5 separate regions of the Homo sapiens genome follow, and regions 1, 2, 3 and 5 are each linked to region 4. Evidence: promoter capture Hi-C in human tissues and cell types (Jung and others, 2019). All regions are on one chromosome and are shown on one strand. Each heading gives the region's core, a stretch centred on a gene start or on the middle of the fragment in contact. The rest is flanking DNA. Distances are from core to core; before and after follow the strand shown.

What was found. Contacts are between HindIII fragments. The study calls those that stand out against the background at their distance.
Region 1: a contact is called between a fragment that was not itself captured here and the fragment with the promoter of SLC25A4 in region 4, in 2 of the 25 tissues and cell types used here (heart right ventricle and lymphoblastoid cells).
Region 2: a fragment that was not itself captured here is called in contact with the fragment with the promoter of SLC25A4 in region 4 in 2 of the 25 tissues and cell types used here (liver and spleen).
Region 3: a contact is called between a fragment that was not itself captured here and the fragment with the promoter of SLC25A4 in region 4, in 1 of the 25 tissues and cell types used here (lymphoblastoid cells).
Region 5: a fragment that was not itself captured here is called in contact with the fragment with the promoter of SLC25A4 in region 4 in 1 of the 25 tissues and cell types used here (dorsolateral prefrontal cortex).

Annotation. Positions count from the first base shown.
Region 1 is chr4:185,529,199-185,534,802 of GRCh38, reverse strand. All of the region lies in intron 1 of PDLIM3 (PDZ and LIM domain 3), which reads left to right. Among named protein-coding and RNA genes, the nearest start is that of PDLIM3, 3.5 kb to the left of the region's middle. The HindIII fragment of the contact is 5,961 bases long and covers 549-5,604 here.
Region 2 is chr4:184,786,211-184,792,199 of GRCh38, reverse strand. It overlaps ACSL1 (acyl-CoA synthetase long chain family member 1), which reads left to right. Exons shown (of 21, transcript NM_001995.5): 3 at 3,469-3,583. Among named protein-coding and RNA genes, the nearest start is that of ACSL1, 37 kb to the left of the region's middle. The HindIII fragment of the contact is 5,273 bases long and covers 852-5,989 here.
Region 3 is chr4:185,595,738-185,601,849 of GRCh38, reverse strand. All of the region lies in intron 24 of SORBS2 (sorbin and SH3 domain containing 2), which reads left to right. Among named protein-coding and RNA genes, the nearest start is that of SORBS2-AS1, 11 kb to the right of the region's middle. The HindIII fragment of the contact is 4,572 bases long and covers 1-4,072 here.
Region 4 is chr4:185,141,045-185,146,778 of GRCh38, reverse strand. SLC25A4 (solute carrier family 25 member 4) reads right to left here and starts at 3,513. Exons shown (of 4, transcript NM_001151.4): 1 at 3,296-3,513; 2 at 1,529-2,015; 3 at 880-1,020. The coding sequence starts at 3,406. RefSeq lists a silencer at 3,442-3,741. The HindIII fragment of the contact is 7,904 bases long and covers 141-5,734 here.
Region 5 is chr4:184,726,657-184,732,369 of GRCh38, reverse strand. It overlaps CENPU (centromere protein U), which reads left to right. Exons shown (of 13, transcript NM_024629.4): 2 at 1,402-1,450; 3 at 3,335-3,452. Among named protein-coding and RNA genes, the nearest start is that of CENPU, 4.6 kb to the left of the region's middle. The HindIII fragment of the contact is 5,564 bases long and covers 1,282-5,713 here.

The DNA of each region.
Region 1 (5,604 bases), core at 2,280-4,779, 390 kb before region 4:
GCCCAGACAGGGGAAGTCTTCCTAATGCTCACTCCTCAGTTTCCAGGCATTTTGAGCACGTTTTCCAAAGCTGAGAACTTGGCTTAGGAATTACCAACTTCTAACTCTAGCTACAAAGAAAACGTGGCAGACAGTTTAGTTTACCTGATGCAAAGTAAACCACTCAGCCTAAAACGGAAAATAATGCTTTAATGTCAAAGTCAAGCTTTACTTGGTGTTCTCTACTGTCTAATGAGAAAACAAGGTAAAAATAAAACCTCAGGGTTTCTCTCCTGTCAGTAAATTTGTAGAATTAATTCTAAAGCATTATTTGGTCTAGCTGGTTTTTTTCTAACACAATGTTTTTCTTCATAGAAAATTAATGTATTATTTCAGTTATCACATATAAAACATTTAATACCTAAAGGCGTAAACTTCCAGAATATTATACTTTTAGTTGCAGAGTATTATACTTTATTTTCTTGTATTCTTCTCATGCCATATTTTATAATTGTATGTGTTATAATCTGATTGATCTGCTCATACAGATTTTGAACAAGGTAATACCTTTTAAATTCTGTTTTATTTATATATGCCTATGAGATTTGGGAACCAACATCCTTTTAAAAATATGTCAAAATGTGTATCCTACAGACGCATACAATGGAACGTTTCAAGCCTTGTTTTACATTTTTCAAAAACATATAAACACATCTGACGTGTTTTTATATGAAACATGAAAACTGTTCAACATACCCCCAAAAACGTTCCTAAGTAAAGTAAGCAGAAAATGCTTCAGTGACCTGGGCCAAGCAATTCCTATTATAGATTTACCAACAAAAACAGTTTCCGTTATATCTACTAAGAAATGTTTTAGTTTCTGGAGTATGGTTTTTATTTAAATTGAATAAGCTTTTGAATCCTAACACAGAATAAATCATATTTATATTAAATTCTAACCAAAATAATTTTGTCACGAAAACTTTTAAGGTGTTTATAAAAGAAATATTTTGCTATTATAGTATAATCGTATGTCAATATAATTAATCATATGCTTGAAATTTTGAGTTGTTGACATTATAAATGTTTATTTTAAAGCAGTACTTACATTCCAGAGTTGGACTACAATAGCTATTGGTAAATATATTTGATATAATGGCAGTTATTATTAGGGAAACCAATTCTATCTGGAATTCCTAACTCATAACTAATTTGTATCACTCATTTTTGACATTTGGTTCAATAACAGTTTATGACCAAATATGATTTCACTTGATTATGGCTTTTCTCTTTAATTAATTCTAGGACAGCAGGTAAAACCAAATCATTTTTGTATCCCAAGTGTCCCCAAAGCCAGGTATATAGTAGATTCTTATTGAATAAATAAGAACATTTATTTATTCAATAAGAACTTTTATGCTTTAGTGAACACCTAATTCAGAATATTTTCACTGAAATGATAAGAATATTGAAATTTGTTAAGGAAAAGAATAAAAAGTATTACAGAAAAGTATTACAGAAAAATAACTATCAGTATTGTTAAATGGTGAATTGTTGTACTGCTTTTAACATTTTAACACCATTTTGAAAGGCAGTGTGTGAGGTTGTAAGTGTGTTATTGTACTCTCTTGCTTGCCAGGCATTGATGGGAACCTTTTATGTGCACGAACTCACTGAAATCTCACAATAATCTTTAGGAGAGTAGCAGTAGTGACATCCCCTTTTGCAAATGAGGAGAATGAGGCTTCAAAAGATTTATTAACCCGCCGATGATCACAAGCAGTGGGACAGGCTCTGACGCTAGGTCTGTGTGCCTCCAAAGCCTGCATTCTGAAGGCCACATGTGAAAATGGACACCTGTTCCAATATTTCTAAAGAGTTGTTTTGTGCCATCCTGTTCATCACTGGCCTTATTGATGCTGTCTTCAACATCTGCCACTTTCCATTTTTTCTACTACTGTCCCTCTTCAAGATTTCCTAGCTCCACGCCTAGACATTTGGCTCCCCCGTCCAATTCACACAGCATATTCTTACCGTCTCTGGAAAATGCCAAATTGCTCCTTTCTCATTCTTAAAAATCCTTCAGCGGCATCACTTGTTTGTAGAGAGTGAAATGCGTGTCTTTGCACAACATTCATGACTTTTCACCATCTCCTATCCCAATTTGAGTTGCTAACTTCATTTCTTTCCTCTCCCTTTGTTGTCTCTCCCTTTCCTCCCCTTGTTCCACACGTAGGCAGTGGTACCGCCCTCTGGACTACTTACGATTTCCCTGACGTGTCTTTGCTCCTGATACCATTTTTCCCCACACCACACCACTGTCCTCTGTGCCTGTGGAAACCACTCAAATGCCTCTCCCCAAGCCTTCTTTCAGTAACAACCATCTCATCCGGTTGATTACTGTAGCTTTCGGCCTGTATAACCCCTCCTTATGTCATGCCTGTACCAGATGTTCCACTGCATCTGTATCCCACCAGATTGCACATTCCCCGAAGGCAGAAACCTTCTAATCTGGGGGCCATTCAGGGCCTAGCACAGTGCCTAGTAGAGCATATGTGTTGTAGAATAAATATAGACACGGTATGAATGATTGACTAGATTGTTCCCTTTTTACATGACTTTATTATAAATAGGTATAGAATGTGTTCTCAAAAATATTTCACAAAAAGATAAGTGAGAATTGTTTTATTGTGAGTTGATTTGTCATGTTTTTGTTTTGTTTTGTTGAGACAGAGTCTCGCTCTGTCTCCCAGGCTGGAGTGCAGTGGCGCGATCTCGCCTCACTGCAACCTCTGCCTCCTGGGTTCAAGCGATTCTCCTGCCTCAGCCTTCCAAGTAGCTGGGACTACAAGCACCCGCCACCATACCCAGCTAATTTTTTTTTTTTTTTTTTTTTTAGTAGAGATAGGGTTTCACCATGTTGGCCAGGCTACTCTCAAACTCCTGACCTCAGGCGATCCGCCCACCTCAGCTTCCCAAAGTGATTACAGTCGTGAGCCACCACGCCTGGCTGATGTGTCAGTTTTAAATAAGTTCTTAATATACAAAGAATTGAAATACCAATATCTACACTTAAAGCCACAAAAAGTCCCATAAACGAGATGTGTTTAATCGAGTCCCCATTAAATCAGCTTTTGTCCTCCTACAAGCTATACCCTTCACTCCCCGCCTCACACTATACAAATACAGACGACAGCAATACTGCTAGACAATGGGGCTCCAACCAGAGTTTGTAGGAGAGTGACAAATATGACTGCCTCCATCAATTGAAATTACAGTTCACAAAATTAGGACACAGGGCCCTCATGCCCGTAATTGTTTACAATCCAAATAGCCAGATGAATCTTTGTATTATAAAAAAATCAAAAGTAAGGTAAATCAAACACCAGACATTCTCAAAACAAATTTTTAGCAACTGGTTGTGATAAACACAATTTTTAGGAAAGCAGTTTCTAGGCAATAAGTGTGATAGACCTTGTGCAATATAAAATTTCAGTTTTGGATGTTCAGTTTAGGGGAGGGAGTTGTTAAACACCGTGTATAACTGGCCTAAGCATTTCACAGAAGAATTTGAAGGTTCACTTCTTCAAGTGAGCATCTTTTCTTTTTATAAGAAGCTTCTAAAGAGTCTAAGTTTTTGGACCATCCAGAAGCTAGATCTACTCTCACAGACAAGTTGCAAATCGTTTGCTTTGACAAGATTTCAATATGGAATATAGTAATCCCCTCTCATCCACAGGGGACACATTCCAAGACCCCCAATGGTTGCCTAAAACCTACATTAGTACCAAACCCTATATATATATACGTGTGTGTGTGTGTGTGTGTGTGTGTATGTGTGTGTGTGTGTGTGTGTTTCTATGCATGCATACCTATGATAAAGTTTAATTTATAACTTGGGCACAGCGCTCTTGCACTTTGGGGCCATTATTAAGTGAAATAAGGGTTGCTTGAACCCAAGCACTGCAATACTGTGACAGCCGATCTGATAACTAAGACTTCGAAGTGATTTACAGGTGAAGAGTGCAGCATAGACAAGGTGGATACGCTGGACAAAGGGATGATCCATGACCCAGGTGGGACAGAGTAAGACTTCATCGCGCTACTCAGCACAGCTGCAATTTAACACTTATGAGTTGTTTACTTCTCAAATATTCCAATTACTATTTGTAGGCTGCAGTTGGTCTCGGATAACTGAAACTGCAGAAAATAAAACCGTGAATAAGGGGAGGCTAGTGTACAGGGCAAGCTTCTTTTGTGTACATGATATAAAATGATTGTCTATATCTGATGCCAGTGTGTCTTTTCTCACTAAAATGTCTTCCCCCTCTTCACTCCTCCCTCCTTCCTATGCAGAGCACATCCAAGATCAAGATTATTATAACTGAGAATGCTATATGAGCTTGAGTACCAATATAGAAAAAGTTAGTGTGTTCCTAATTTGTACAGGCTTTAAGATAGAACAGTGTATGACTTTAACATAAACTACTTTTGAAATTTCATGTAATATAAACTACATTTGAAGTTTAAACTTTTAGAAAGGACTGTTTGCAATGGAATGCAATTCTTTTCCAGGGTAAAACACAAATGTAGTGGAAAGGTTGATGTAAATAAAAACCTGTTCAATTTTGTTCTAACACAGACCGTGTCTACGTGGAAGTACTGGTTCATGTGTAACTCATACATCCCACAAGCATCTACTGTGTGCAGAATGTCTCGTATGTGAAAGACACTGTGGGCATATAACTGTGGCTTAGATGGGCTTCTAACCCCTGAGAAGATAATATATCAGCAGAAAAAAAGGAACATGTATATGAACTGCCATCACACAACCTATCCAGAATTCCACAAGAAAAGTATGGTCAAAGAGCTAGGAGGTGTTGAAGGAAAGATTACCTGCAGGAGAGGCAATGCGAGATGATAGAAGATTCTGAGCTATAGAGCGAGGCGGACCCAGATGGGAATTTCAGGTTTTCTCGGGATGTGGGACCCTAACCAAGCTTCTTATACTTTCCAAGCATCCATTTTCTCATTTTAAAAAAGAGATAACTATGTTGTAAGATTGTCTTAAGAATTATGTGAGATAATAGTTCTCAATAGTAATACGGTGATGGTTCCCAGCCCTGGCAGCATGTTAAAGCCGCCCATGTGACTTCTGAACACAGCCATGCCCAGGTGCATGCAGAGATTCTAATATAACCGGTGTGGGGTGTGGCTCTAGAAATGTCTTTGGCAGGCAGGTGCTGCAGGGCTGTGGATGCCAAGGAGGCACGCGGAGTCTATTTGCTAGGGATGGAGAATGAACAATGGGGTTTCTCATGATTTTGGTCCGTGCCTACCGTGCAGTGCTTCAGTGTGTGCTTGTCTTGCTCCATAACTATTTCAGTCGTTTTTATTAACAGAAACATCATCTCAGGACCATGTCTTGGGCTTGCCTTACGTCTCCACATAAATAGGACATTATAGATGCTTTATCTGTGTTTTCAGTTAGCTTTTTTTTCCCCAACAGATCCAAGTAATATAAGTTGATGTGAATAACAGAAATCATCTGAGGCGCTTGTTGAAAGCATAAATTCCCTGGCTCCTCTCCTAGAGATTCTGTTCCTGATTCCGAGCATCTGGAAT
Region 2 (5,989 bases), core at 2,239-4,738, 350 kb after region 4:
AATTAGGGTAATAATAAATATCTTGCCCCAGGTTACATGTCAAGATGTTGCTTTATTGGGGATATCATTCACTTCTTTAACTTTGATTTAGCTTGTTTGCCTCCATGTTTCTCGGATTCCAGAAGATTATACACCACCAAAAACTTAAACCTAACTAAAAAATTATTTAGCTAAAAGTTTGTTATAAAATGGTCCTCCAGAGCAGTGGTTCTCAAAATAAAATTTGGGACATTGACCAAGGTGGTTGACCTGTCTTGAAGGGATATGGTCTCTGTATGTCCAAAGCTAAACTTCATCTCTTTTCTGAAGCCTACCCCCAGTACCCAGTCTTCTATTTGATTAAAGGGGACAGTTTTTCTTCTCAGCCCTCCTTCTTTCTGCTTACACCCCATTACCTGTTAAATCCTGTTCCTGAGTGCTGCAGCACGCCCAGTGCCTTGGTCCTTCCCGGCTCCCAACTCCCACTGCCCTATCCAGGTCTGTAGGAGTTGGTTTCTCCCCAGTCTCTTCCCTCCCTCCTGTTCCACACACTGCTTACGCTTCTTGTAGATTTCTTTCTAACCCATTAGCCCATCCTCACCACTTCCCTGCTGAAAACTTCCCTGCTGGAAACCTGCTGTCCCTAGGAAGGTGCTTCTCAAACTTTAGCATCCCCTGGAGGGCTTCTTAAAGCACAGATTGCTGGATCGCATCCCCAGAGTTTCGGATTCAGCAGGTCTGGTGTGATTTGCTTTCCTAACCAGTGCCAGGTGTTCCGCAGAGCACACTTTGAGAAGCTTGGCTCTAGAATGAGCCTGTGCACCTGAGATTTCAGGCTTGCTTCTGTCTGTTCATCCTGACTCTCCCTGCACTCTTCTGCTCAGCCAGGGTTCCCTGGAGTCCCTGTGGTCACTTAGAGACAAGACGTGGGCTCCTTCAGAACAAGCTTGTGTCTTGTTCACCTTATCCCCATCTGCCCATTCACAGCTAGGGGAACTCCTCTGCAGAGTGCAGAAAGTGGTGTTGCTTTTGAAGAGAGAGCACTGAAAAAGACCATGAATGCATTTCTGTTGTGTCAAGAGGTATAGAAGGCACCTTTGTAAGCAGAGCATCGTGAGGACCTCCCTGTGGGCGGCCAGGCCACCTGCATGTCTAGGCCATGCTGAGACAACCACACTTCACCATCATACTTGGTACTTTTCTTATCTCTTTTCACACCCACTCATTCTTCCTGTTTTCTCTCATTTTGTCCTTTCCCCCTTTCTCTTCCTACCTTAGCCTTGGTGCCTTCGGTGTGTTTGGTGGCTTCATGGGTTGAAAAGGCTTCTGATATTCACTACAAAGCCACAAAATTGCTTCTGAATTTCAGGCTATTTGTTGGAGTCAAGACTGAGGTGATGGAGGACTTGTACTGTAGTTAGAGCATGTTATCGGGTGCACAAGTAATATTCTACACAATCATATTTTACAGGAAAGTTCCTCTTTAACAAAAAATAACCCTGGAAGTGGACTCATGATGTCTCCATTTTACAGAAAAGAAAACAGACTCAGCGATTAAGTAACAATAATGCGTGACACTAAGCAAAGATATTCTCCCATTCTTATGCACACAGAGAATAACGTTTTTGCTTCATAAAGTAGTGTGCTGTAGTTAGTAAGCATGTTTGGAATCACAGCCATAGGTGTTAGAAAGTTTCTGCCGAGAGAGAAGACATTGTGATGATTAAAAGATATGGTTAGGTCATATTTACTCCAGAAAACTATTAGCAGTTTGGGATCAAGAGTGAAATACACACATGTAGCACACAGTAGATATTGACAGAATGTCTATAAATGTATAAGCATAAAAAAAAGACTGGGAGGAATTTACCAAACTACTAATAGTCATCATTTTTCCTTGATATACTTCTGTATCACTTAAATGTTTTTAAACAGTATATACATTATAACTTAAGGGTGGACAAAAAGCAAAAGAGCTTGTAGGAAGAGAAATGGATAATCCTAATAAAAATAGAAGAGTCCATGGAAACAGATCAGGCAGTCATCCCCTTCTAAAGGGTCTCCCTGTGAGTTCATCCCCTGGCACCCATCCACTTCCTCCTCAGCGCGGCCCTCCTCAGCCTGCCGCCCTACTCTGAGACCTAGCTTTTCCACACTTCTTTTTGGTGTCTCCTGTTTTGTTTCATCACACCTTAAGCCAGAAACGATCTCTTCCACTTTTGGACAGCTCTCTCCTCTTGGTACCAGAGGTTATCATATCACAGTCTAATTTCTCCAAGGGTTTCCAGACTGTTGTAAAAGTGAAGGCCCCTCTCTGAAATTAAAAAAAAAAAAAAAGGTAGGCTCTAACGTCATAGTCACTGAGCTTTTATTTATCAGTCTCTAAAGACTGCTTTTTGGCTTTCTGTGGATGTCTGGATGCCTTACAGTGTCCTTTGGCCCCAGAGGACTCAGCAGCTCACATTGGAGACCTGCTACCTGTAAAGACTACTGCTGCTACTGTGGGAGGCTAGGCCCTGCCGCCTTATCCATCATTAGGAGTTCTTGCACATAGCAAATATACTCAGGAAGCTAACAGATGAAGACGACTTAGAGAAAGGTGCACAGCGATGTCAAATCTGCACACCTATAAATGTTGCACCTAAAACTAATAAAGACCTGTGTCTGCACATGCATATGTTTTGTAGCTGATGATTTTAACTGTTAGAGATGCTATGCAAGAAAGTGAAGTTTCTAACAGATGATATTGCGCTTGGTGAGGAGATAAAATAGTGGAAATAGTCTCAAAAAGAATATAGGTAACATTTTAGAAGTATAACCAAATGGGGTTTCATTTCCACCAGAGCTGAACAGGATCAGTCCTCTGTGCTGTGGATGGCAGTGGCTTGAGAACTGTCAATGTGTGTAGTGGTGGCAGTTTGTGGCTCTTCTCTTGCTCTCTTTGGCCTTATCCGGCAGGACCAGCACTTGTAGGTCTGTAAACCTGTTTTCTCTCTTCAGGCATCTTTCTGACTTAGCCGTGGTTCCCCGAAGCCTGTGTTTACCTCCAGGCGAATGATTGGTTTACATCAGCACATCTTGCACTGCAGTCTTTCAGCACTCACTCACTGGGCAGCTGTTCCGCAGGTGGCCGCCTAGAGGGGTGCGGATACCACAGGGGCATATTAGACTTTATATTTAATTTTTAAGCATTTTATTTTTTAATGGACAAATACAAATTATGTGTATTTATGGTGTATAATAGGAACGAGTTCAGGACATCTATTTTTAATAAAAATGGTGACCATGTTCACTATTAGTTGGTGACTGTAGTTAATAACAATGTACCATATACCTGAAATTACTAAGAGAATAGATTTTAAGTGTTCTCACTACAGATAAGTGACAAGAATGTAAAGGAATGGATATGTTAATTAGCTTGATTTAGCCATTCCACAGTGCATAGATGTTTCACTGCCTTCTAACCTGCCCCCCTTTCTTTTTTGATAGGGTAGTGGTGGTGCACGAAGATCCGCACTACTTGACAGCGACGAGCCCTTGGTGTATTTCTATGATGATGTCACAACATTATACGAAGGTTTCCAGAGGGGAATACAGGTGTCAAGTAAGCATTTTCCTGCATTTGCGTGGCTCCCGCTCGCCGTGTTTCATGAAGAACGAGTGGCCTTTCAGAAATGCACATTTGCTCCTATCTTTCGCCTCCTTAGGATCGCTCAGGCCCCTCTGTGTCCACTGTAACTTTCCCAGAGTCGGTCCCAAAGCTCACTGGACCCTCTAGATGTTCCCTGTGGCCCTGGGGGCTCCATGGTCAAATATGTGAGTGTCACATCCTGTATTTTATGGTGAGTCACATGTTACACCAGTGCACAATAGGCTCTGACGTTTCCTGCAATAAAGAGGTCTGTTGAACTGGGCCCAATCCGGCATTTTTCATGCTTACTTGACCATGAGACCCATATTTTGAGAAAGAAATACTGACATCCCAGGATGGCAGTGTTCTGTTAAAGATACTTGGGAAATGTTGGCTCATGGGATTACCCTTAATTATTAACTGTAGTGTAAGAAACCCTGTGATATCCAGCATACCTCCTTTCCAGCCTCTGTCCCTCCCAGGCCTCCTGTATAGGGCCCTCAGGTCATACTGAACTTCCTGCAGAGCCACGACTACCTCTGCTCTCTCCCAGCCCTGAGGCTTTGTGCAGTTCTATTTTGCTTTTTAGAAATGGGGTCTTGCTATGTTGCCCAGGCTGGACTCAAACTTCTGACCTCAAGTGAGTCTCCTGCCTCAGCCTCCCAAAGCACTGGGACTACAGGTGTGAGCCACCATGCCCAGACTTGTGCACTTTTTTTTTTCTTTGGACGGAGTTTTGCTCTTGTTGCCCAGGCTGGAGTGCAATGGCATGATCTTGGCTCACCGCAGCCTACACCTCCTGGGTTCAAGTGATTCTCCTGCCTCAGCCTCCTGAGTAGCTGGGATTACAGGCATGCACCACCACGCCCAGCTAATTTTGTATTTTTTAATAGAGATGGGGTTTCTCCATGTTGGTCAGGCTGGTCTCAAACTCCTAATCTCAGGTGATCCACCCACCTCGGCCTCCCAAAGTGCTGGAATTACAGGCGCGAGTCACCATGCCCGGCCATGCACTTTTTTTTCTTGATCATAAAGCCTCTTTCTACCCCCAGCCTGGGTGCTTGATGTATTCTTTAATCTTACAAAACTCACTGCATTTCACCTTTTCTCTAAAACCTTCCTAGTCTATCATTTTCATCCCCTACCTCTGAGTGAAGCATTTCTTCCCTTTTCCCTCCCAGCATGTTATATTCCTTCTGCATAACTCCTGATGGCACAGAGGTGTTCACCTGGCATTCTGCCCCCCTAGCCCGAGCTCCTTGAGAACAGGGTGGTTATCAGTCATCTCTTTTCACAGCACTGACAGTGCCTGGCACACAGTGAGCGCCCCACTAATGCATCCTCAGTGAAGGAGGGAGTACCTCTGGTTTCTCCACCCCTCTTTCTATTTTAGCCACTTCATTTTTGCTTATACCAGGTACTTGTCTAAAAATGGTCTTGGAATCTGTGCTTTGTTATTTAAATCCTCTGATGCTTAGCTTTTATTTGGGCCACTGCTAGCTACATTGTAATCTTTTTACGGTCAGGAACCATGTGGTATTGCTGGCTCTATCCCTCATGATAGGTTGCATGTAATATGCACTCAAGAAGTGCCTATTGGCCGGGCATGGTGGCTCACACCTGTAATCCCAGCACTTTGGGAGGCCAAGGCGGGCAGGTCACGAGGTCAGGAGTTCGAGACCAGCCTGACCAACATGGTGAAACTCCGTCTCTACTAAAAATACAAAAGTTAGCTGGGCATGGTGGTGCATGTCTGTAACCCCCGCTACTCAGGAGGCTGAGGCAGGAGAATCGCTTGAACCGGAGAGGTGGAGGTTGCAGTGAGCCAGGATTGCACCATTGTACTCCAGCCTGGGTGACACAGCGAGACTCCGTCTCAAAAAAAAAAAAAAAAAAAGAAAGTGCCTATTGTTTTTTACTTGACACTGGTAACATTGGATGTCTCAGCTTGGCGAGTTTGTCCCAGTGTTCCCATAGCACGTGCATTAAGCCCTATTACAAAGGAAAAGCAAGCTTACTTGTGTATTATTTAATTTATGAACATTCTCAAAGTTGGTGTCAAGGTCAGGGTTTGTCTGTGATAGTAAATATCCATCAGGTGGATCAGCCTAACATATGGCACATGAAACAGTGTGTGTGTGTGTGTGTGTGTGTGTGTGTGTGTGTGTGTGCTTTGCCACCACCACAGAGCACATATACGGTAAGTCCTCAGTTAATGTCTTTGATGGGTTCTTGGAAACTGTAACTTGAAAACCACTATAATGAAACCAGTTTTTCCCATAGGCTAATTGATACGAACAGGAGTTACATTCCCACAGCGTATTTCTAGTCACAAAAACATCACCAAACTTCTAAATAAAGACCACGCTTCTTATGTTA
Region 3 (6,112 bases), core at 537-3,036, 460 kb before region 4:
AAGTCTCGTCACCCTAAAGCAGTCCCATCAGAAGGGGATCCCCGGCGCACGGTTTTCAACATGAAATCAGGCCCTGATTTTTCCTAATATGTTCACGTGCTCTTTCCAGCTGTTATGATCCACATCATTCTAAAAGCTAAATGGGGTTATTTTTTTTCTCTAAGAGCTCTGATATGCATTGAACCCCTGTATTAGTCAAGACTGGGATAAGCACAGTCCCAGAAAACTCAAAATAATTATAGCTTAAACAACGTAGAAATATATTGCTCTTACACATAAATGAAGGGTGTCCGGGACTGGTATGGTGGCCCCGCAGTCATCAGAGAACCCAGGAGTTTCCATCTGATGTGGGCTCATCGCCATCCTCAGAGAGAAGCTTCCGCTATGGGTCCCAGGTGGCAGCTCGAGTAGTTCCCTTCTCACACGAACCAGCAGGAAGGAGAAAAGATGGGAGATTACACCTTCTCCCTTGAAGGCCAAGTCCCAGAATTGCATATATCCCCTCGGTCTCAGCTTATGACATGAGTACATCCAGCTACAAGTCAGGAAATGTGGTCTTTATCCAGAATGGCCATGTGCCTACCCAACAGCCTGGCCCCATTACTGAGGACCAAGAAGAGAATGGATGTGGAGAGCATCAAGCATCGTCTGCCACGACACTTAAGCAACGGTGCCAAACACATTTCATCCCGAGAGGCTGGGGATTTGAGGTCAATCATTACTGAGAATTAGGAAAACTTTTCTAAATGAGAGTTGAGAAAACCACATGCTTTTATTTAAGCGTGTTTTATTCCTCCGGAAGTTCTCTTAAGCCAGATCAAATACCAGGCAGTACACTGCCAGATCCTGTCCGCTATTGGAAGGAAAATAAAACCTACACAAAAGAAGGTCAGCTTACTCACTGTCATATGAAAGATCTTACTCTGAAAATAAAAAAAAAACACCAAAACAGTCCAGCCCACAGGTTGGCACTTCAGTAGTTCATCAAATTTCACCATGTTTCCCCCCAAAAAGGCCTTATTTTCTTCTTATGTGTTAGAAAATTTTGCCTCCAACAAATGTCTGATACAGTCCATGAAATTTGACAGGCATTAAGCCAAATTCTCCTCTATCTCACCTTGCATCCCTTCAATAAGATGAAAAAGCAGGGCAGGTTTGAGAGCATCTTGAACCCAATTGCTAAGCATTCTATGAAAGACATAACATTTCTTGGCCGGGCGCAGTGGCTGACACCTGTAATCCCAGCACTTTGGGAGCCCGAGGCAGGCAGATCACTTGAGGTCAGGAGTTCAAGACCAGCCTGACCAACATGGTGAAATCCTGTCTCTACTAAAAATACAAAAATTAGCTGGGCCTGGTGGCGGGTGCCTGTGATCCCAGCTACTCGGGAGGCTGAGACAAGAGAATCGCTCGAACCCGGGAGATGGAGGTTGCAGTGAGCCGAGACTGTGCCATTGCACTCCAGCCTGGGCGACAGAGCCAGACTCCGTCTCAAAAAAATAAAAGACAAAAAAAGATATAACATTTCTTATATGTTCTTGGCCTCTTCCCTATGCCAGCTTTCCTCTGTGAACCTTTTTCTGCTGTGCCTGTGGGTGCCATGTTAAGATGGCAGCTGGTGCCTGTGGTGTGGAAACTGTATAAGCAGCTGGAGAAGCTGTGGACCCTCCCTGCCCTGCTGTTGTGCAGGAGTTTGGCATGCTGTGTGTGCATGGAAAAAGCCAGCCAGGAAAGCTCCTCCTGAAGTCTGTGTGACGAAGATGAGAGCTAACTAACTTCTTGTACATTTTCCAGGCTGACGTAAAAAGCGAGATATGTGTCCTGGGTAAGCCTCCTCGTAGCCCAGTGATGTCTAGGAGATTCTGCGGCTCACCTGTCAGAGGGCTCAGCGGTTCCCACAGGGTAGGGTCAGCATGCCCCCACTTTGTGGCAGGCATCCTGGCCACCTCCCCCGCCCCCAGGGCTGGCTCTTCCTTAGTTGTCTTTGCTGTGAACTGGCCTTAAAGTGAGGCTGGAGACACCCTGAAGATGAAGCGACCACCTGGTGATGTGCTTCCCTTTTAGGTGTGTGTGAGGTTTCCAAACTCCACAAAGACATGGTCAGATTCTCTACTCTACAAATAAGAGTGTCGTGTGTTTTGTGGTCTACATCTGTCTCATGGTTCTACACTAAATCACTGCTTTCTAGTCACCGTTTCTCCTGCAAAGAAAAAACTGTTGCCAAGCATCTACAGTGCCGAACTCACACACTTCCGGTCATGTTTGCTTCTGTGTCATTCAATTTGGATTTTTTTTAAATCCATGATTCTTGTCTAACATCTTCTGTTTCTCTGGTGATGTGCACTACATCCTCTCAGTCTGCCTTTTGTCCCCATACTGCTGTCTGGATTCTATCCACTTCCTATTTCTTGCCAGCTCTGATTGAACTTAAAGGTCAAATTACTTTCCCTTAGCTACTTCGTTCCATAGTATCTACAGTACTTTAAAATACATGGACTCTAAATGGTACTTACTATCAATTCTAAGGAATGCAGCCAAGGAGTTTGGAAATTTTCATCTGGACATAAGTCAGGATTCCTTTCCTCATTTCTGTTTTAATGGACCCGGATTCAACCTTGACTGGCCTATCGCATGGCCGTGCTTCTGCATTTCAAGAAGTTCTCAAGGGCTTGATTTCACAGAAGTCTTCATTTTTTATTTCTAAAGAAAAGTCGATATTATTCTGCATTCATGCCACTTTGTGCTTTTTGCATTGCATAGGAAGACCTCATTTTGTTGCTGAGGCAGAGCTTTGTGTTGCCATAGAGACAGAAATGCCAATTTGTAGAGACTCTTAGACTCCCCCGAATGGCCTTCCAGAGCCAAAGCAAAACATAAGCTTCTTTTGCAGTGAAAAGGACCCATCTATAACCCTCCTGTGGGTCCACGAGATGGTATGCTTGTGTTCCCCTTAAGGTTTTTTTTTTATTTTTTGCCTGATTTTTACATTATGTATTTGTATGTCAGATTACACGTGTGTTTGTGTGAACCATAAATATTCTATTTTTTTAGATTTATGCAAAGTTGTGTTTTACCTTCATAATTTAAGAAGGAAAAATAAGCCTCTAGAAACATAAACGTGGTATTATTAGGAGAATTTCATCGAATTCTGGTGGGCAAATATGACAACTAATATTTTATAAAAAAAGATAAAAACACTTTAGCACTGCTTATATTGCTTTCAGAGATTTTTTTGCATTAGTGTTTAAAGTAACAGTCAATCCTTCTTTAAGAATTATTTGATACTAAATATAGCTAATCCTCCAGAGATAACTGCAGAAGCTTTGATAAATTAGACGGCTTTTCAACAGACTGTAGCTCACTAAGATCGGAAAGTATATATTTTACTGATGTTACAGACTCCATGATGTTTCAAACCAGCTTCCTTATGAACAGCAACTTGTGATTGGTTCTGGCTTTGGAAATTAGCATGTGTTTAAAACTTGTCTCTTTTGTATCCGTTTTTGACAACATTAAAAAATAGCTACAGAAAAATACTTACATAGTCAGGGCTACAGAAAAAAATACATATTTAGGATACGATGAAAACCGCAGCATGCTTCACTGGATTTTTCTCTTGTTCTACTCTTAAGATTCATCAAGGAAATATAAGCATAATATAATTCTTGTTCAAAATGCCCAGCACAGTGATTGTAATGTGTCAGTTGAAAGCCATCTTTCTAGGTTCAGCTCATGTAAGCCTCTCTGAATGTCACAAGTGTATATTGTTCTATATTTATCTTAAAACTGCTAAGAAGTTAGGGGAAATGGAAATGCCTGCACAGATAGTCAAAATAGAAATGGACACGGACCAAAAATGCTGGTGGCTTTACAAGGGATGCTTTCTCAAAAATTTAAAACGTGGGGAGGGAAGAACATGGTTAGGAAAACAGATGACTGTCTATTCCACATCACTCTGCGGCCTTTAAAATAGGCTTTTAAAATTTTTCCAGCCTTGGGAACTTGGATAAAAAGGGGCAGATAAAGCAGAAACAACTCTCAGCTTGTTGCTGCCATTGCTCACCACTAGGTGGCGACAGAGTGCAGCTGCATTACAAATCTCTGCTTAAGCGACTTGCCATTTGAGTTACATCACCAAGGGGAAAGGGCGAAAGACAGTCTCCCCAGATAATCTATTTACATCACCTTATAGGACATTTGCACCTACCTCAGCGTCAAAATTAAGATGCTGATTTTAGCCAAGGTAGGCCAAGTAGTCCATCATAGTAATCTTTCATGCAATAGCGTGCACATCGAAATTACCATTTTGTTTCTTTTTCTGTTTGTTTTTTACCTATTTGTCGTATTAAGAAATTATCCAGTATCTTTGGGTTTTGGTTTACCATTCTGCAAAATGGAGTTGAATTGTAACCATTATTTTTTTTTACGTGACCGAGACACATGAGAATTAACCAATCAATGTCAGTGTCCCAGCTCTCTGTGTAAAACTGATGACGGACACCTTTACACAGCAGAGGAAATACATCTGTGGAAATGTGTATCCTTCATGGAATCCCTGAGGGGACCCGATTAACCCTCATCTTGTCCAACTCATTGATTTCAGAGATAGGGAAGCTGAGGCATCCCCAAGGTTATATGGTGCTTAACGCCCAAAACAGAAAGACGCAGATGAGCCGTCTTAGATAACTGTTCTTGCTACTCATTCCCTACTAGTCAAATGCCTTTAAAATAAACTATTTCAAGTACTGTAATTAGTCAGCTTTCCTCAAAACTGTCTCCTAGTTATCCACATTAACATGGAGGTGATTCTTGTTAAAGGTAAGCTTTGAAAAGTTCTAAAACTCGCCATTATAAGACACACACAACTTCTCTGCTACGAAAAGTCTTGATTGATTCTGGCCTCAGGATGTGAACAGTATAGAAAACTGATGATTTGTGTGTAAAAAGAGGGGCAGGGTTTGAAAGATATGAAGGAAGGGAAAAGAGAAATTGGGAAACAGGTAAAAGCAAGGACGGGGGCCGGGCGCAGTGACTCACGCCTGTAATCCCAGCACTTTAGGAGGCCAAGGCGGGAAGATCACAAGGTCAGGAGATCGAGACCATCCTGGCTAACATGGTGAAACCCTGTCTCTACTAAAAATACAAAAATTAGCTGGGCACGGTGGTGCGTGCCTGTAGTCCCAGCTACTCGGGAGGCTGAGGCAGGAGAATCGCTTGAACCCGGGAGGCAGAGGTTGCAGTGAGCCAAGATCACACCACTGACCTCTAGCCTGGTGGCAGAGTGAGACTCCATCTCAAAAAAAAAAAAAAAAAAAAAAAGCAAGGACGGTGCTGGCTGCCCCACACAGGAACATACGTTCTCCAGCCATGGACGTGGGATCCAGGAAGCTGCAGGTTTGCAGCAATCACCAAATTTTCATAATGGTCAATGGGACAGTTCAGTTAAATGATTGATGAGGTGGGTTGAGTTAAAGGAATTAAACTAGTAGAATTATAATGATGATAACTAAAAAGGGATATACGGACTTTAAAAGTTGATTGTTTTACATTAATGAACAATTTGATTTTTAAAGTGGTATTCACATTTTAACAAAAGAGCAATGAAATGAAACTAACCAGTTTTACAAAGCATTGGATGCCATGATGTAGAAGTTGAAACTTTTACTCAATTTTAAAATATTAAAATGGTTTAAATGTGTGAAAACAGGGATGCCAATTTTAGAGCATAATGAAATATATTTTACACAACATTTTCTCTTAAGACAAGAATAAATAATATTTTCTTATTCATAACTTTATTATGCACTGCAAATGGTGCTATGATTGTTTTGGGGAAAGAGTAGTAGCTATCTTGGTATATGATATGCAGTCTGGCATATTAGACATTTTCAAGTTACTTTTGAGTACAGTATTTTTCAGTGACTAACATGTACATTCTCAAAATCATATGGCTTTAATGCATACTCTTTGGCCAGAAGTTTTACTCCTGGGAATATATTCTAAAGAATAGTTCAAAAGAAGAAAATAGCTCTTTGCATAAAAAATGTGTATAGCATTGCTGTTTATGATAGCAAAAAAAAAAAGACTAGACCAATTCTAACTTCAAAACTAA
Region 4 (5,734 bases), core at 2,264-4,763:
CTGGAGGAAAGAGACTTTTCCCCTGAAACATATCTGTACACACTGTTACCAGTTTTATAAAATCAGGGTCATCTGGGCATGGAGTCCCAGCTCCATGCAACATCCCACTGGACATCTCCTTCCTTGCTTCACTGGCAGGCTGGGTCTCCTGTCATTCCTACTCCATTAGTTCAAGGTCAGTGAAGAACTGGGGCAATTAACCAAGTAATTCATGGACTGCCCAACTGCGAAACAAGAAGGGCGCAGTGGAGCAGGAGTATTATGCTACGCGGTTACCTTTTTTTATGGAGGACCGAACTGAGGCCGAGCCTCAGATGATCCTGCACGAGGTTATGCAGTCTAAATAAAAGGCTGTAACTATTCGTTGAAACATACGAAACTGCTAACATTGGACTGTTTTTGACTTTTAAAGTGGCAATTTCGTATGGTTCAACCTATAGAAGCCAAAACTTTCTCTGGCACAACAGATTGCTTCAGGCCATCTCTACCCAGCTAAACACCCCATCCCACTAACACCTGTAACTAGGAGGGAAGCAAGAGTTCTTTGTAAGAAGTAGCTAACTACTTCTTTTCCCTAGCTTTTGCACCCAGGCTCTAAGGGAAGAGGGCCTAGGGTCTCTATAATGCTGGATACCTAGTTAAATTCACATCTAAATGTCTTACTATTCATGTTCTTATCATCTCTAATAAAATGGAAAATACTTTTCCCTAATAGGATAGTTGAGAACGTTAGGGGGAATTAATACCATCTTTCTTCCCTAAGTCCTTATCAAATAATTTTGAAAATTAATTTCCAGTAAGGAAGACTGAAAGGAGCCCTGTAAAATGTTCTCCTCGGGCAAAACCAAACAAGTTTAGATGAGTAGAGCACAAGCTTACCCCCTTTCCGGCCGGACTGCATCATCATTCTACGACGAACAGTGTCAAAGGGGTAGGACACCAGCCCTGCGACTGCCGTCACACTCTGGGCAATCATCCAGCTCACAAAAATGTGCACGTTCTTGGGGTCAGGCAGCATCCCTGTGGACAGAGCCCAGAAGCCGAACGGCTATGAAGTGCCTGTTCTCAGCAGAAAGCAGGTGGAGGGAGAGAGGCCACTGCACCTCCAGCTCCATGCTCTGACCTTGCGGGGAACCTGCCCCTGTGCAGGTGCTTCACATATGACCAGGCAGACAGCAAAGGTGGCTGCTGCCCTCTCCGGACCCCGGAGGGGCAGTGCTCAGCTTGTATACAGGGCATTGGAAGTGGCTTCAAGTTAAACTCAGTAACTGCTATGGCTGTGTCTAGAGGGAGACAGGCTCCCCCCTCCTCCTCTCTGAATAACTAAAGGCCAGAGTTTATTTCAGTAGAGGACACAAGGAACGCTTCAGCTATTAACTTATGCACATCACCTCCTCATTCAGAAGCCTCAATTATCCCAGAGACTAGAAAAAACAAGATCAATATATATCAGGTCCTTTGTGAGTTATAGATCCCATAGGATCCTCTTTCCACACCACCCTCCTTCTCCCCGATGCCCCTCTCTCACCCTTGGCAGTATCATAGACTCCGAAGTAGGCAGCTCTATAGATAATGATGCCTTGGACAGAGACGTTGAAACCCTGGTAGAGCCCCCTCAGGCCATCAGACTTGAAGATCTTGATGATACAGTCGCCCAGACCATGGAACTCACGCTGGGCGGCGCCCTTGCCCACATCAGCAGCCAACCTGGTCCTAGCAAAGTCCAGCGGGTAGACAAAGCAAAGGGAGGTGGCCCCAGCGGCCCCACCGGACGCCAGGTTACCAGCAAAGTAGCGCCAGAACTGCTTATGCCGATCCACACCCCCTAAGAAGAGCTGCTTGTACTTGTCCTTGAAGGCGAAGTTGAGAGCTTGGGTGGGGAAGTAACGGATCACGTTGGCCAGGTTACCCCTCCAGAAGGAGAGGAAGCCCTGCTCCTTAGGGATTCTCACCACACAATCAATGATCCCTTTGTACTGCTTCTCAGCACTGATCTGTTTGCTGGCATGCTGGACCTGGTGGAGGGGAGGGTGGGTGACAGAGGACAGGCAGGGTAGAGAGAAGGGAAGAGGACAGGAGAAAAAAAAAGGTTTGCACTTCCTAGATTTTTTTTTTGAAGAAAAAAAGGATGAGGAAATCAAATGGATACTGAGGACGTGTAAATGGATACTGTTATCCATGTTAGTTACTGGATAACAAGCCAAAATAATCCAATGTTGCTTCAATTATTAGGGTATTTGAGGGAAAAGGTATTGCCCCAAATAAACTGAAAAGGTGATTGAATTATATAAAGCTATAGCCATTTATTTATTTCACTTTCCCTAGGTTTGAGAACTGTATGAGGGGCTTACTGGGGGACAGAAATGAGTAACACTCCCTGCTTCAAAGGGCTTTGGATTTAATAGACATGATGGCCAAAAAATGACAATTTCTCAGTGTCACTCTGATCACCCTGGAGATGAGGATCTCTACTAGATGCTCTAATAGAGGAAGGAGAATAAATCCACTAAACATTAGGCCTCCAAAGTTTTCAAGCAGATAATCCAAGTAATCAATTATTAAGGGTTTGCTGCCGTTGTGAGCAATTTGTGGGGGTTTTGTTGTTAGTAATTCTGACTCCCAAATTGGGCTCTTCCTCATTGAGGGGCCCTGACCTTTTGGGCAGGTGGAGGAAAACACGAGAGGATGATAAACCATTCAGCGACCAGGTAGGGGAGGAAAAGATTTGGAGACAGGATGATCTGAGTTTATTCCGAAAATTGTTTCTTAATATTTCAAAACCTCAGCTTCATCTGTAAAATGGAGAAGAATAACTCTCTCACAGAGGTTACATAAAGATGAAGGCGTCAGCCTACATACAGCATTGTGCATGAGATACGATAAGGGAATTCTTGGGTGATGATTATTTTGATGTTTTTATTGTAAAGGTGCGTGCGCATAAGACGGTGCCAAAAATACTGGCAATCACTAGGTGCCTCCGGGCCTGAGTGCACGCCCGTGCTGTCACGGGCGCAGGATCTGGCACACGTAAACCGGCTCCGGGTGGGTTTCCATATATAGACACCCGAACGCCGGGCGCCACCCGACACCAGGAATCTGCGACTGACGCTGGACCTGTCTCTACGCAGAGGGCACCTTCTTCCCCCGCGGGCGGGCGGGCGGGCGGGCGGGCGCCCGGGCCTGTGGCCTGGCGCAGATTTTCCGCGGCGCCCCGCGCCCTGCAGCTCGCGCCGCATCGCGCGCCCCGCCCGGCCCGCCGCGCCCGCGCCCGCCTCTTGCACCGCGCGGTCCTCACCTGCAGCAGCAGTTTGACCCTCTCGATGGGGGCGACCGCGGTCTTGGAGACGGCAGCGGCGACGCCCCCGGCCAGGAAGTCCTTTAGGAAGCTCCAAGCGTGATCACCCATGGTGACAGCTCGACGCTCTCAGCCCGCAGGCAGCCCGTTCGTGCTCTCGCCCACGCCCGGCCTGGCACCGCCGCGCAGTCCCCGACCCTGCGCGACGCTAGGGGGCCGCCGCCTGGCCCGCAGCTCCCCCTTATATCCCCGCCGGGCTCTCGCGAGAGGAGGCGGGTCGCGGCCGGCGCTCGCGCCGCGCATTGGCTGGGCAGGTGCGGGGCGCCCCCTCCTCCCAGCTGCAGAGGGCATCGGGGGCGAAGGCGCTTCCGGGAGCGAGGCTGGGCCGGGGGCTGTCCCTGCAACTTGGGACGTTTAAAGGGCACATTCATGTTATCTGTCCCGCCGAGCCCAGGGAACACCGTGTCACCGCGGCATGTGGGCCGCGTATTTATAGCACAGGCAGCCTTAGGCCGGGGCGAAGCCGGGGCAGACACCGGGCCGCTGCCGCCGGTGGAGAGTTCTTGACCCTCCGGCCTGCACGGGCCGCGCTCAGGCCCAGGGATTTCGAGCTGTTTCCTCCTTCTTGCATCTAAAGGCGCCCCCCACCAGAGCTCACTGCCTGGATATGGGCCTCTTTAGAGCCGTGCGCTCCCGAGAATAAATGGCAGTCCTCTCAAATAGATACTAAGGTCACCTGATGCTGTGATTGCCTCATAGAATCTGACAACCTGCTGCCTCTCATTTCTTTTCATTCAATCGTTCGTTCAGTCATTCATTCTGCTATTACATATTGATGTGTCTGGCACTCAGTGCCCACAGGAAAGACCTGGTGCAGGGGGCCACTAGGTGAATTCATACTTGTTTCTGCAAAACTCTGTGACTCTAAAACACAGGACACTTCTTTTGTAAGCCCCTAAAGGGTTCAATGTACCACTCTGCTCTCAGCGGAATTTCAGCACATATTAGGGCAGAATGTTCTGTCTGTCAGCCGGTGCCTTCTTGAGGGTCAGTGCTGTCAGCCTTCCGGAGATCCAGTCCTTGGCTGTATTTGCCTCTTTTTAATGACAGCTGGGGTTGAGGAAATGCTATTTAATCCCAGGAAATTAATTGCAATTAATTTCTTAAAATATATAAATCTGAGCTTTAATTTTCCTTAGCTTGTTTTTTAGGCAGTTCATGTAACCATACAGGTTTTCAAATACAACTGTTCCTTCCCCTAGAATGACTGCAATTCGTTTTTAACTTTAAACTCTTCACTCAATTATCTTCCCATGTTTGCTAATTTTCATTTGTACCTTTAACAAAGTTTATTCATTGTTTTATAAACTTTTTTTTTTTAATATTTGCTGACATCATGTTAGAGGTTTACGGAGCTGCAGCTGCGTGTCACCCTGGGCGTGGAGACTTTGGTATAGCAGAAGTCACTAAGGTTCCAGGGCCACAGAGGGCATGCGTTTATCTAAGAGTGGGGCAGGCTAGAGTTCCGAAATCCAGGTAAGCAGAATGAAAGCTAGAAACTAGTGGAAAGCTGCCAGAGGTCAGAGCAGACAGAAGTCAAGAACTCGGAAGAGACAAACAGATAAACCATGTATGTGTTCATTCAACAGACTCTTGCTGAGCATGTACTGTGTACCAAGAACTAGGTGTAGCCCTGTGGATTGAATATAAGTAGACGTGGCCCATCTCCAAAGACCTTACAGTTCAGTGTATTCGTCACTTGCTCCACTTTATCAAAACTTCACTTACTGATTTCCATGGATCAGCATAATCCACACAGTAAACCTTTTTAATTATAATAGTGTACTGTATCCCATCCTGTAATATAGAGCACTTGCTTTTATACCTCCATTTTCCTTTTAATTGTGCATTAGAATTGTGTCTTATTTTTATGATGAAAAATAGGCCGGGTGTGGTGGCTCATACCTTTGGGAGGCTGAGGCTGGCAGATTACCTAGGTCAGGAGTTCGAGACCAGCCTGGCCAACATGGCAAAACCCCATCTCTACTAAAAATACAAAAATTAGCCTGGCGTGATGGCTCATGCCTGGAATCCCAGCAGCTCAGGAGGCTCAGGCACGAGACCCCCGAGAGGCAGAGGTCATGGTGATCTGAGATCACTCCACTGCACTTCAGCCTGGGCAACAGAGAAAGACTCTGACTCAAAAAAAAAAAAAGAAAGAAAGAAAGAAAGAAAGGAAGGAAGGAAGGAAGGAAGGAAGGAAGGAAGGAAAACTAATACTGCTACATTGAAACTTACACAAACTTCATTTTCTCCTCTAAGTTTTTTCTTCTCATATATTTCCCAAATGGAATGGATAGATTTAAGATTTTTAAAGTTTTGTAGCTTTTGCTACATATTGACAAATTGCTCTTCAGAAATACCAACCCACCAGTTATA
Region 5 (5,713 bases), core at 2,814-5,313, 410 kb after region 4:
ACTGAATCAGACACTCCTGGGGTGGTGCCAAGCAACCTGTTCAACAAGCCCTCTTGAGAATTTTGATGACACTCAAGTCTGGGAACCACCGCTCTGAACAGTTTTCTAACTTTTTTTTTTTAACTGTGATTCACAGTAATGATGTTTTACATCACACTTAGTACACGTGTGCACACATCCACACATAAAACAAAAGGCTTGTGAACATAGTATATCCAGTGCAATGCTTCATTTTATATTTTCCTTTTTTATTGTTTGTTTTTTTAAAAATGCTGGCCTGGCAATCTTAAAAGACATTATAGGACAATTGATGTGATTTGGGTATGGACTGTAGATTAGATTATGGTATCAGTGTTAAATTTCTTGATTTTAGAAATTGTACCATGAATATGCAGTATAATGCCCTCTTAGGAAAGACATATTGTAGTATTTAGGGGTGGAAGTGCACAGTATCTCCAGACACACACACACACACACACACACACAGAGCACATGAGTAAAGGGCATACAGAAGGTCCTTGTGCTATGTTTGCAACTTTTCTGTGAGCTTGAAATTATATCAGATAAAAGGATACTAAAACATTGGTTTAGACTAAGCTGATTTTGCTGTCTACAAATGAGAAAAATATGGCTGCAATCTGCATGGCATATTTTAAAGTCTAATTATGTACTGTATTCTCCTGGAGTATCCCCCCCGTACCCTTGTACGATGCCTGGTTGGTGGAGGATAGTCTGTACATATTCACTGACTGCTGGCACTATTATTAGTAATAATGATATATAATCCTGCCACTGTTATTTCCCGTTTTTATTCTTGTCACCATTGTTACATTTGTTTTCTTGAAGCTTGTTGAAGATATATATACAACTTTATCATTTGAAGCTGTGGTCCAACTGAGAGAGTGTCAAGGGAGGTCGAGGGCAGGCCCTGGATTTGAACTGATGTAAATTTTAATGCAGGCTTGTCTCCCTCCTGGCTCCGTGTTGCTGTGGGCAAGCACACATCTGTAACATGGGATTCACTTCTACCTTATAGGACTGTTAGAATTAAATGAGAAAAGGACGTAGGAGAGCCAGGCACCGGATGGAGCAGGTGTCGGGGCTTAGCGTTAGCCTACCTCCCCTTTGTTCAGCTGTGCAGAGAAAGTCAATCACTGCTGATTGATTAAGGCCTCAGGGAAAAAGTTAACAGCAGGATTCCAACTTTTCCATGTCCCTGAGGGGGAGAGGTATGTTATTTTATACATTGGTGATAGGATTTGACCTATAAAAAATAAATTTGTGGAATATGGGTTCTTGTTTTTTTTTTTGGTAAAAATGCGCGGAAAGGGTCATAACTATGGTGTTTCCTCAGTTATTTTAACTATTTCCTAACTCTTGTGTTTTTTTGCTGTTTAATAGCGCAAGACGTTCAAAGAACACTTTAGAAAGAACACATTCCATGAAAGATGTAAGTTACCTTTTTGTGTTGTGGTTTTCTCAAAATTGACAGTACAAAATAACATTTTTTGGGTACCTCAGTTTTGTAGACTTCACTTGGCAAGTTCAATGTTTATTGTAGTGAAAAAGTGTGTTCATTTTCCTCACACTTTTTCCGGTATAGTGGATAAAATGACTTTTGTTAATGTTTTAGAATTTCCTTTATTTCTGAGCCGAGTTTGGTTTTATTTTCGTTTAGATAATTGACTTCATGTAAAAATTGTACAGTGCTGTAAGCTTTTTTCACTTAAAGCCATTTCTCCTCATTGTACTTTTCAAGAATTGTTTTATGATTTCATGATACTCCACTTAGTTCACATTACAGGTTTACTTTTCTTTAGAGTCTTAGAATAAATGTATGTTAAAGGCATGTGCATTTCTTTAACGTTCTTGATAGCTAATTCCAGTTTTTTTTTCCAGTGGCTTGTGTGATTGACATTGTAATCTCACATTAACAGTGTATGACAGTGCCAGGCACCCCGGAAGGAGTTCCTTCTGCTTGTTCTGCCCTGGGCTTTCTCTGTCCTGCATAGTCCTTAACCCCAGCCTGCAGACGATAGCTCTCTTCCCCTCTGGGAAACCCTGGGATCCCCCTGCAGGGTTTTGCTCAGCGCTCTGCTCCCACCCCGGCATTACTTCACGGGTTCTTTGGGTGGATTTCTCTCAGCTGTCCTGCCTTGCCCCTGCCATTGGTAGCCAAAGTACAGTGTGCCTCGGAGGGATTTCTCTAAGCTCCAGCCTTAGCTGGAAGCCCAGAGTGCCTGGAATGGATTCAGCTTTCCTGTCCTTCCCTCTGCAAGGCAGTCCCTGGTGGAGGCCCCCTATGCCTTGGGAGGGGCTGGAAGACCTGCCAGCTCTCTCCACATTCCACCCCCAAGCACTCCAGGAATGATTCTTTCACTGGGGGCATCTGAATGGTCAAGTTTTTATATGGTTTGCCAATTTTATTTGACCTCCTTTATACCTTCCAGAATTTTCTTATTTTTGTATCTGTTAATAGTACCCTTCCACATTTTCTGGAACTACCATGAAAGTTTTTCTCATTTTATGTATGTTTTCATGTTTCATTAGATTTGGGGTAGCAGACTTCATGGGTGTATCAGTATATTGAACTCTAAACCCTGGTGTCCTTTAGTCAGGAGTTTTTACACATGTGTACCCTTAAAACTGTTTATGAACTTTTGGGTATATGGGCATATTTCCGGAGACAGGACCCATCACTTTCCCTAGGTCAGAGGTTTAGGCAAACTGGCCCATGGGCCAAATCTAGCCTGCCACCTGTTTTTGTATATCCCTGCAAGCTAAGAATGGTTTTTACCTTTTTTAATGGTTGAAATAAAATAAAAAGACTATGTCATAATATGTGAACATGATATGAAATTCAAATTGCAGTGTTCAAAAGTCAAATTGTATTGGAACACAGCCATGCTCATTCTTTTCTGTGTGGTTACTGTCTGCATTCATGTGACAGTGGCTGAGTTAGTAGTCAAAACAGAAACCTTACGGCCTGCAAAGCCTAAAAGAATTTACTTTCTTGTCCTTTATAGAAAAAGTTTGCCAATCCATGCCTTAGGTTATCAAAAAATTCTATGTCCCCAAAAAGTGTTAGCTTGCTTCTTTCTTTTTATTTTAACTGAAACATTGTAATTGTACACATTTGTGGGGTCTGATTTGATCTTGCCATACATGTCTATGTTGTATAATGACCCAATCAGGGTAGGTAGTGAATCCATCACCCCATGCATAAGGATTGCTTCCTTAGGCAGCAGTGATTACAAGAATATTCTTGCTGTATAAATCAACCTATTGTTCTTTGTGAGAGCCAACTCAATGACTCAACTTTATTCACTTTTAGAAAGCTGGTCAAAAGTGCAAGCCTATTGACGTGTTCGACTTTCCTGATAATTCTGATGTCTCAAGCATTGGCAGGCTGGGTGAAAATGAGAAAGATGAAGAAACTTATGAGACCTTTGGTTAGTACTTTAAATCTTTATCCTAACATAACTCTAAAGCAACAACATTTAGGCCAGATATAATAAAAAATAGAAGTATCTTCAAATATAAAAATTAGTTGCCTGCATGTAAATATAATGTTCTCTGGGGAGTACTTGATAATTTGAATTAATTTTCCTCACTTACGGGTACATTGAAACTAAGAACATTATCAAAGCGGCACTCGTCTAGTAGTATTCATTAACAATCTGGTCACATGAGGACGCTTACTATAGTACTCTGTAATAAGGGGAACATAGCATACATTTCTCACTTCACTCTACCATTTGATAGAGCCATTAATTTAGGGAGGAGAAGAGTATGGGTAATTTTCCTTTGTCCTAAACTCATGGAGGCAGGGGATGCTTCGGGAGAGCCAGTGGGAGAGCTTCACCTGTGTTCCTTGGAGTGTGAGGTAAAAGGCCAGTACCAGGCTGGCCAGGAGTGTGTGAGTTGTCAGGGTGGGCTGCTTGTGTCACTGGGCACTCCAGAAGCCAGAAATGACAGAGAAAATGCCATGTGTCCCCACATCTAGAACTGCAGTAGTCAGGCATTTTTGCTGGAATAAGTTTTAAGAGAATTTTGAAGGCTTTTGGTTTAATTTTTTGTTTAAAGAAAATATTATACATTTTATAAGGTGAAATGTATTCACCAGAATAATGTCTTTTATTATGACTTGATAAAAATGTCCTATTTGTCTAAAATCTAAATCTAAAAGATCTGAACCTAAAACCCCATAATTTTAAAAATGGAAATGAATTCACATACCATAAAATTCACCCTTTTAAGGTGTACATGTCATTGGTTTTTAATTTATTCACAAGGTTGTACAACCGTCTGCATTATCTAATTCCAGAAAATTGTTATCCTGTAGAGAACCCTGTACCCATGAGTGGTCACTCCCTCTTCCCCCTTCCTTCAAGCCCCTGGCAGCCATGAATCTCCTTCCTGTCTCTACAGATTTGCCATTTCTGGACATATCAGTGGAATCCTAGACTCTGGTCCTTTGTGACTGGCTTCTTTTACTTAGTTTTCAGGGTTTGTCCATGTTGTAACGTGTATCTACCTCATTCCTGTAAGTTTTTATAGCTCAGTGATACTCCATTGTTTGGATATACCGCAGCTTGTTACCCATTTATCAGTTACATTTGGGTGGTTTCTATTTTTTGGCCACTGTGAATAATACTGCTGTGAACATTTGTGTAAGAGTTTTTGTGTGGACTTTTTTCACTTCTCTTGGGCATATAGTGGGAGCAGAATTGCTGAGTCCTATGGTAATTCTATTTTTAACTTTTTGAGGAACTGTTTTACAAAGCGGCTGCACCACTTTACAATTCCATGGCAGTATATGAGAGTTCCCGTTTCTGCACACCTTCACCAAAACTTACTGAGTTTTTTATTCTAGCCATCCCAGCACCTCATTGTGGGTGTGAGTGTGTGTATGGGGTATGGGTGGTAAAATATAGTTTACCATATTAACCTTTTTTAAGTGTATTAACTCTGTAGCAGATAAATACATTCACGTTGTTGTGCAACCATCATCACCATCCATCTCCAGAACTTTTTCATCTTTCCTAACTGAAATGCTCCACCTATTAAACAACTTCCCATTCTTCCCTCCCCTCAACTCCTGGCAACCATCATTCTGTTTTCTAGGAATCTGATGTAAAAGGAAACATAGAATAGTTGGTTCTTTGGTAACTGGCTTATTTCATTTAGCATAATGTCTTCAAGGTTTATCTGTGTTGTAGCCTGAGTCAGAAATTTTTTTTTTTTTTTTTTGGAGACGAAGTCTTCCTCTGTCACCTAGGCTGAAGTGCAGTGGCGCGATCTCGGCTCACTGCAACCTCCACCTCCTGGGTTCAAGCAATTCTCCCTGCCTCAGCTTCCCGAGTGGCTGGGATTCCAGGCGCCCCCCCCCCCCACCCCCCAGGACCACCACCACCACGCCTGGCTAATTTTTGTATTTTTCAGTAGCGATGGGGCTTTGCCATATTGGCCAGGCTGGTGTTGAACCCTTGACCTCAGGTGGTCCACCTGCCTCGGCCTCCCAAAGTGCTGGGATTACAGACGTGAGCCACTGCGCCCAGCCAGAATTTCCTTTTTAAGCTGAAGAACAGTCTGTATGTACCACATTTTATTTTTATCTACTCATCTGTTAATGGACCCTTGGGTTACTTCTGCTTTTTGACTGTGAATAATTCTGCTATTAATACTAACATGAGTGTATCAATATCTGTTT